Regions from separate parts of the Homo sapiens genome. Here regions 1 and 3 are each linked to region 2. The links are contacts of gene promoters, found by promoter capture Hi-C in human tissues and cell types (Jung and others, 2019). All regions are on one chromosome and are shown on one strand. Each heading gives the region's core, a stretch centred on a gene start or on the middle of the fragment in contact. The rest is flanking DNA. Distances are from core to core; before and after follow the strand shown.

What was found. The method cuts DNA at HindIII sites, captures the fragments that hold promoters and counts their contacts. A contact is called where the count stands out against the background at its distance.
Region 1: a fragment that was not itself captured here is called in contact with the fragment with the promoter of ZNF362 in region 2 in 2 of the 25 tissues and cell types used here (heart left ventricle and neural progenitor cells).
Region 3: a contact is called between a fragment that was not itself captured here and the fragment with the promoter of ZNF362 in region 2, in 3 of the 25 tissues and cell types used here (adrenal gland, spleen and stomach).

The regions. Positions count from the first base shown.
Region 1 is chr1:33,299,301-33,302,000 of GRCh38, reverse strand. It overlaps ZNF362 (zinc finger protein 362), which reads right to left. Exons shown (of 9, transcript NM_152493.3): 9 at 1,282-2,700. Among named protein-coding and RNA genes, the nearest start is that of A3GALT2, 20 kb to the left of the region's middle. RefSeq lists an enhancer at 1,669-2,618. The HindIII fragment of the contact is 5,609 bases long and covers 1-2,700 here.
Region 2 is chr1:33,255,052-33,257,751 of GRCh38, reverse strand. It overlaps ZNF362 (zinc finger protein 362), which reads right to left and starts at 1,260. Exons shown (of 9, transcript NM_152493.3): 1 at 1,098-1,260. RefSeq lists an enhancer at 510-804 and silencers at 1,270-1,329, 1,772-1,871. The HindIII fragment of the contact is 13,308 bases long and covers 1-2,700 here.
Region 3 is chr1:33,210,661-33,213,360 of GRCh38, reverse strand. It overlaps a transcript of ZNF362 not described here. Among named protein-coding and RNA genes, the nearest start is that of TRIM62, 30 kb to the right of the region's middle. RefSeq lists a silencer at 1,221-1,280 and an enhancer at 2,055-2,224. The HindIII fragment of the contact is 3,403 bases long and covers 1-2,700 here.

The sequences.
Region 1 (2,700 bases), core at 32-2,531, 44 kb before region 2:
CCTCTCACCTCAGCCTCTCAAGTAGCTGGGACTACAGGCGCATGCACCACCACACCTGGCCAATTTTCTTTTTCTTTTTTTTTGTGGAGACAAGGTCTCCCTATGTTGCCCAGGCTGGTCTCAAACTCCTGGACTCAAGTGATCCTCCTGCCTTGGCCTCCCAAAGTGCTGAGATTACAAGCATGAGCCACCAAGCCTGGCCTCACCCTCTCTTGCTCTTCTGCCTTCTGGCATGAGATGACATGGCATGAAGGCCCTCACCAGATGCTGGCACCATGCTCTTGGACTTCCCAACCTCCAGAACTATGAGACTGGAATTTATCATGAACAGAATGAAATTTCTGCTCATTATAAATTACTGAGTTTGTGATATCCTGTTATAGCAGCATAAAACAGATGAAGACACTGAGGCTTTTGTCAGAGAGACAAGAGGCTTGATTGCTGGAACCCTGGGGACTGAGAGACTAGAGCTGCTGACCCCACAGGCGCCTCAGGCTGAAGCTGACTCAGAACAGAGTGGAGAGCTGGAGACACATCCTTTGAGCCCTGAAGCTGGCCTGACCACTGTCCTGTTACATAAGCCAATACACCCTTGTTTGGATTGGACTTTCTATCACTTGCAGCAAAGTCTTGACACATGAGGACTGTGAGGACTCAGGGAAACGAGTTCGAACCAATGATGACCTCCATGGTAGATGACCTCCATGATGACCTTCCATGGACAGTGGAAGCACTGTCCCCCTCACAGTGCTTCCACAGGGCCAGACATGATAAGCTTTTGGGGATTTTATTACTAAATTTCCTTCCTAGGCAGTCAAAACATTGACTCCTATGGGGAAAAAACAATGTATGACAAGGATGTCTTGGACTCCCCCTCCAATCACTAGAATCACTTCCACAAATCAGGCACTCATGATGGACCCCCCCCCCACATAGGTGGGGTGCCCCCTCAGGGAGCAGTGGAAGTGAGACTTATTGGTGGACCTAGTATATCCAAGAAGGCTCCAGAACTAGGCAATGCTGGGTCAGTTTATGTCACTGCCACTATACTGCAGCATGATCCTTAGCAAAGGGCCTCTCTTGGTTTGCTGCCCACTTCTTAGGGAGTTGTGAGGCAATCAACATAAAGCACTCAGTTCAGCACCTGGAGTGAGGCCAGCCCACAGTGAGAGGCCACTTTCTTCCTTCTCCAAGTCTGGGGGGCGGGGGAGGGGAGAGGAGCAATGGAAAGGTGCCCCCCAGCCCTGCCCTCGCACAGAGCACGCCAAACACCACCGCCACCCGGGTGCAGGTACAGTTTATTCTTCACAACAGAGAAATACAAAGAGCAGAGGGTTTGTAATTCCTTTGTTTCTTGCCCCCTTTAGTGTTTTCCCCCCACATTTGATTTTCATTTGCTCCCCACTCCCTTTTTTAAATAGAATGCAAACTACCTTCCTGAAGTGTCTGAGGGGCACCTGCCCTCACCTCCCTGCCTCCAAGATGCAGACTGAGAAGCCAACAGACTGTTTTTTCTTTTTTAATAAGGTAACTAGTTCTAAATATGGTGGCCTGGAGGTCCCATAGAAAAAGCAAAGGGGTGTTAACAGTATGTATAACAGCGTATTTACAGGGAGTAACATGCGGACAAAAAGCTACAATACTGAGTATCAGACGACGCAAGTCAAACAAAGGGCCGGGGGTGGGGGCAGAGAACCCCATGGGCAAAGAAACCCCAGGAAACGTTAAACTGGTAAATCAATGGCGAGTTAAGGCTTAAAAAGTGTATAAAAATAACACAGTTAATATTCAAAACGGAACTCCAGATACAGAATATATAGATGAGTTTCTGTCTAGTTTTCTTTTTTTTCCCGGGGGGATGTAGGGGGCTTCTCTGGGCTCTGTACATGGTTCCTATATACACCGACACGCATGGCTTTCAGATTGGGGTGTGTCTGTGGGGGCTGGGGGCAGGGTCTGCTCCTGGGACCTGCCTCCCCGGGGATCCCTTCCCTGCTGAGGGGCCTAGGGCCTCGGCTGGGGATTCCCACTCCATGGCAGGGAAGACAAATAACCCCTCCCTGGGCACTGCCCCCATCTGGAGGAAATTCTGGAGGGAGGTCCCAGATCCAGGCCCACTCCCTCCCCATCCCCCTGCCCACAGTCTGGGATGGTGGGAGAGGTAGCCGAAAGGTTTCCTGGCCAGCACCGAGGTAGACTGGGGTGGTCTTCAGGGCAGCAGGGGAGGGCCAGGTCTTACCCAGCCCATCCCCACCCCATTTCCCTGGGCCCGCCACCCAGCCCATCACTGCACCCTTTGGTCCTGTGGATCTCCCACCCCTCTCGTTTCTGCCTCCTGAAGCTGCCGCACCCCTCTGCTCAGTGATGCCCAGGGCACAGCTCGAGAGGTGCGAGCCAGGCACTCAGGGGCGAAGGGCTCACTCCGGCTGCTTCCTGCCCCTCCCACCTGGGGGTCCCCTTTGCAGTCCAGAAACCTAGGCCCGAGCCTTCCCTCAAGACCTGAGGCCATGGCAAGAGAAGGTCCCACATTGCCCTCTGGTTCTCTGCGTCCATCTGTCCGATTCTTTAAATTTCTCGGTCTTAGCAGCACCAACTTCCTGGCCAATAAATATCTTTTCTGTTATTTCCAAAACAAACTTAAAAAAAAAAAACGAAAAAAAAAAAAACAGTGAAGCAAGTGAAGGGTGGGGAACAAAAAGA
Region 2 (2,700 bases), core at 11-2,510:
GGATTATTTCCTCATGCCAGGGGTCTTTGCTGGAAATCCTGGACCCATTCTGAGCCCCTCTTGCCGGCCCTCTCCCCCAGATCTGAGGATCTAGCTCCTTACAATGCCATGTTTATAGAGCCCCTTCCAAATAAATGTTTCCCAGTTCCCCCAAAACTCCCATCCTCAACCCTCCACATCCGCCCCCCCACCCCCATCCCGCGCAGCTCTGAGGAAACCGGCAGTTAACTTTTCCCAAAAATCCTGCAAAGGCAGCTGGCTGGGGGAGAAATGGGCCTCGAGATCCTTTCGCGGCATTTCACCGCCTTCCAAAAAAAAAAAAAAAGAAAGAAAGAAAGAAAGAGAAGCAAAGCAAAGCAAACTTTCGGAGTTAACTTTAAATTCCCAGCCCTCCCCCCTCAAATCGCCCGGCAGCTTCCCTTTTTTTTTTTCTTTAAAGTGCAATTGCATTGTGTCTCACCTCCCCGAAAGGCTCGCGGCTCTCGCCAAAGAAAAGGAAAAAAGCCAACCCTTCGGGTGCCCCCTCTGCTTCCAGCCGCCTCTCCCACATTCTCAGACAGTTTTATTAAAATTTTCAGACAAAAGAAAAACAAAAATGGCAGCCTGGCTTATTTTTAAAACAGGACAGGGACGCCATATTCTGCAGATCTGCAAAAAAAGGGAGAAATCCGGCACTGGCTGCTCCACCGGGCCGGCTGCAAAGTGCGCGAACCGCGCCGTTTGCAATCCGTTTATTTGCATTATGCCCCATGAATCATTGTTTACCGGAGAATTGCAGCAGGGTTTGAATAGCCCGGCTTAAGAAAACACACACACACGCGCGCGCACACACACACACGCACACACACTCGGAGACCAGCCCCAGACACGCCGCGGGAGACACTTCCTACCCCGCGCGCCCCGCTGCCGCCGCCGCCGCCGCCGCTCTGGGCCGGGCCCGAGGCGCAGGCGGCCCCGGGCCCTCGGAGCGCCCCGGCCCGCGCTGACAGCGCCCGCGCCCCGGCCCGGCCCCCGCCCGCAACTCGGCGCAACTTTCCCGCGGGCAGGCGCCCGCCGCCGCTGGGCCCGCTCCCCGCGCGCCCCGGGCCCGCACGGACCTGGCTGTGCTGGCGGCGCCTCCGGGACGCGGCCGCAGCCCCGCGCCCGGCGGCCCGAGCAGGGCCGGGCTGGGGCTCCGGCACAGGCTCCGGGCTCGGGCTCCGGCTCTGGCTCGCTGCGGAGCCGCGCGCAAACCTTCCGGGTCGCCTGCTGTTCACTTCTGGGTTCTGCAAGCGCCGAGGCGGCGGCGGCGGCGGCGGCGGGAGGCTGGGTCTGCAGCGCCGCGCGGCCCCCAGTGCGCTCGGCGAGCCCCCGCGCCAGGCGCCCGGCTCCGGGGGGGCCGCGTCGGGCCCCCGCCTCTCCGGCTGCGCAGCCCGTCCGGCCCCGGGGGCTCCCGCGAGTGGGCAGCGCCGGGCGCTGGCGACTGCGCGAGAGGGGAGGGGGCCGGGCGGGGGGCGGGGGCGGGCCGCGCGCTGGGGCCCCCACTCGGGCCCCGGGGCCTCGTCTCGCGCTCGCCGTCGCCGCCGCCGCCGCCGCCGCCACCGCCTGGCAAAGTTGCGCTGCGCCCCCCGCCCGCGCCGCGCCGGAGGCAGAGCCACAAAGGAACTCCTCGCCCCCCTCCGCCCGCCTGAGCCGCGCGGGGAGGGCACCGGCGCCCGGCCCTAGGACAGCCCCTTCCCCAGCGCGGGGGCTCCCGGGGCCCCGGCGGCCGTGGCCATTGTCCTGCCCAGGCCCGGCGGCCGCCTCGCCACCCCACTCCTGGGTGATGGCAGGCTGGGGACTTGGGCCTGGCGGGCCACGGCCCTGACCAGGCCGAGCCCGCGCGGTGCCAGGCTGCCCCTGGGGGTCTCCCTCGAAGACGGCCGCCTGGAGGGGACCCCCAGGATGGACCCTCACCCCTGATAACGACCTGCTCAAAATCCAGGCCGATTTTTTTTTTAAGACGAGGACATAGGGGTGGGGAGTAGAAGTTTGCACAGGCCCAGCCACCCCTCCCTAGCCCTAGGCCGGATCCCCGACGGATGGGGCGGCCCGAAGCTGGCAGTGGCTCCTCTCGCAGAGTCTATCAGAGGTGGCACCGGCTGTCCCCCGGCTCCAGACCTCAGAGCCATCTGTGTGACTCCTCCTCCCGCCTCACCCTCCCCAGCCAATCAGTCACCAAGTCCTCCTGATTCGGCCTCCCGAGCTGTGTCAGCTTCCAAACTTACACTTCTACCTGAGGAGGCAGCCGGTTCCAGGATCCCTTCACCGGCTTAGATTTCTATGGCATCCACCACCCCCCGACCGCTGGGCCAGGATGGATCAGGGCTGGCCCTGCCCTCAGGGAGCGCACAGTCCCCCGGGAAGGGCACAGAGATAAACAATCATCTGCCAGCGTTTGTCCTCCAGGAAGCATTTCCAAATTCAGTAAATATTCATAGAGGACCTAGTAAACATCAACCACTGTTTTTAATAGCTGGTTGGCTGGAGCACAGCTATTAAAAAACTGGATAATGCCCCTGCCCTCACGAAGATTCTAGTCCAGCACAGGATGGCAAACACTGTGAGCAACTCGAAGACAGGGCCCATAGGGACTGCTTGTTCTCAATCCCCAAGCACAGTGCCTGGCACAGAGCAGGGGCACAAGAAATCTGTGTGGCATGAATTAGTTGGAATGTTAAA
Region 3 (2,700 bases), core at 16-2,515, 44 kb after region 2:
GAGAGGTTGTTATGTATATATGTATGCATCTGTGAAATCATCGCCGTGATTAAGAAAATGAACTTCAGGCTGGGCGTAGTGGCTCATGCCTGTAATCTCAGCACTTTAGGAGGCTGAGGTGGGTGGGTCACCTGAGGTCAGGAGCCAAGATCGCACCACTGCACTCCAGCCTGGGCAACAGAGTGAGACTCCATCTAAAACAAAACAAAACAAAATTCTAAAAATTTATATGAATAGTATAATACATACATACTCTTTTTGTCCATCTTCTTTCACTCAGCACAATTATTTTGAGATTCAGCCATGCTATTGCACATATAAAATTTATCCTTTTTATTGCCAAGGAGCATTTCCATTGTATGGATGTGCCACATTTAGTTTATTCATTCATCCATGGATTTGGGACATTAGGGTTACTTCTAAATAAATTGTGACTATTATAAATAAGGCAGCAATAAACATTTGTGTACAAATCTTTGCATGCACGTACGCTTTCATTTCTCATATAGTTCGGCTGTCTTCTCCAAATCTCATGTTAAAATGTAATTCCCAGTGTTGGAGGTGAGGCCTGAAGGTCAGAGATGTTTGGATCATGGGGGAGTATCCCTCATGAATGGCTTAGTGCCATTCCCTTGGTGATGAATGAGTTCACACAAGATCTGGTTGTTTAAAAGTGTGTGGCACCTCCCCACTGCACCCCACCACCTCTCTGTCTTACTCCTGCTCTTGCCATGTGATAGGCCAGCTTCCCCTTTGTCTTCTGCCATGATTGTAAGTTTCCTGAGGCCTCACCAGAAGCCAAGCAGATGCCTAGCGCCATGCTTCCTGTACAGCCTGCAGTACTGTGACTCAATTAAACCACTTTTCTTTATAAACTATCCAGTCTTGGGTACTTCTTTACAGCAACACACCAATAGCCTAATATAGGTACCTAGAAGTGGAATGGCTCAATATACGTTAGAGATACCTAGGTAAATTATTGAGAAACTGCCAAACTGTTTTCCAAAATGGCTATCATACTAGTCATTCTCACACTGCTATGAAGAAATACCTGGGACTGGATAATTTATAAAGAAAAGAGGTTTAAGTGGCTCACAGTACTGCAAGCTGTATAGGAAGCTTGGCTGCATCTGCTTCTGGGGAGGCCTCAGGGAGCTTTGACTCATAGTGGAAGGTGAAGGGGAAGCAGGCATGTCTTACATGGTTGAAGCAGGAGGAACAGAGAGAAGGCGGCGGTGCTACACACTTTTTAACAACCAGATCTCATGAGAATTCACTATCGTAATGACAGCTCCAAGGGAGATGATGTTAACCATGAGAAACAGTCCCTGTGATCCAATCACTTCCCACCAGATCCCACCTCCAACACCAGGGATTACAATTGAATGTGAGATTTGGGTGGGGACACAGATGAAAACCATCTCAGATGTACATTTGATATTCCCACCAGCAATATAAGAATTATCAAGACCAAATCTCCTTTGGATTGGTGTACCTGAAAGTGATGGGGAGAATGGAACCAAGTTAGAAAACATTCTTCAGGATACTATCCAGGAGAACATCCCCAACCTAGCAAGGCAGGCCAACATTCAAATTCAAGAAATGCAGAGAACACCACAAAGATTACTCCTTGAGAAGAGCAACCCCGAGACACATAAATGTCAGATTCACCAAGGTTGAAATGAAGGAAAAAATGCTAAGGGCAGCCAGAGAGAAAGGGCGGGTTACCCACAAAGGGAAGCCCATCAGACTAGCAGATCTCTCTGCAGAAACCCTGCAAACCAGAAGAGAGTGGGGGTCAATATTCAACATTCTTAAAGAAAAGAATTTTCAACCCAGAATTTCATATCCAGCCAAAATAAGCTTCATAAATGAAGGAGAAATAAAATCCCTTACAGTCAACCAAATGCTGAGAGATTTTGTCACCACCAGGCCTGCCTTACAAGAGCTCCTGAAGGAAGCACTAAACATGGACATGAACAAACGGTACCAGCCACTGCAAAAACATGCCAAATTGTAGAGACCATCAACGCTATGAAGAAACTGCATCAATTAAACAGTGAAATAACCAGCTAGCATCATAATGGCAGGATCAAATTCACACATAACAATATTAACCTTAAATGTAGGCCTGGCGCGGTGGCTCACATCTGTAATCCCAACACTTTGGGAGGCTAGCGAGGGCAGATCACAAGGTCAGGAGATTGAGACCAACCTGGCTAACATGGTGAAACCCCATCTCTACTAAAAATACAAAAAATTAGCCAGGCGTGGTGGTGGGCACCTGTAGTCCCAGCTACTCGGGAGGCTGAGGCAGGAGAATGGTGTGAACCTAGGAGGCAGAGCTTGCAGTGAGCCAGGATTGTGCCACTGCACTCCAGCCTGGGTGACAGAGTGAGTCTCTGTCTCAAAAAAAAAAAAAAATTAACCTTAAATGTAAATGAGCTAAATGTCCCAATTAAAAGACACAGACTGGCAAATTGGATAACGGGTTAAGACCCATCGGTGTGCTGTATTCAGGAGACACATCTCACATGCAAAGACACACATAGGCTCAAAATAAAGGGATGGAGGAAGGTCTACCAAGCAAGTGGAAAGAAAAAAAAGTAGGGGTTGCAATCCTGGGTCTCTGATAAAACAGACTTTAAACCAACAAAGATCAAAAGAGATGAAGAAGGCCATTACATAGTGGTAAAGGGA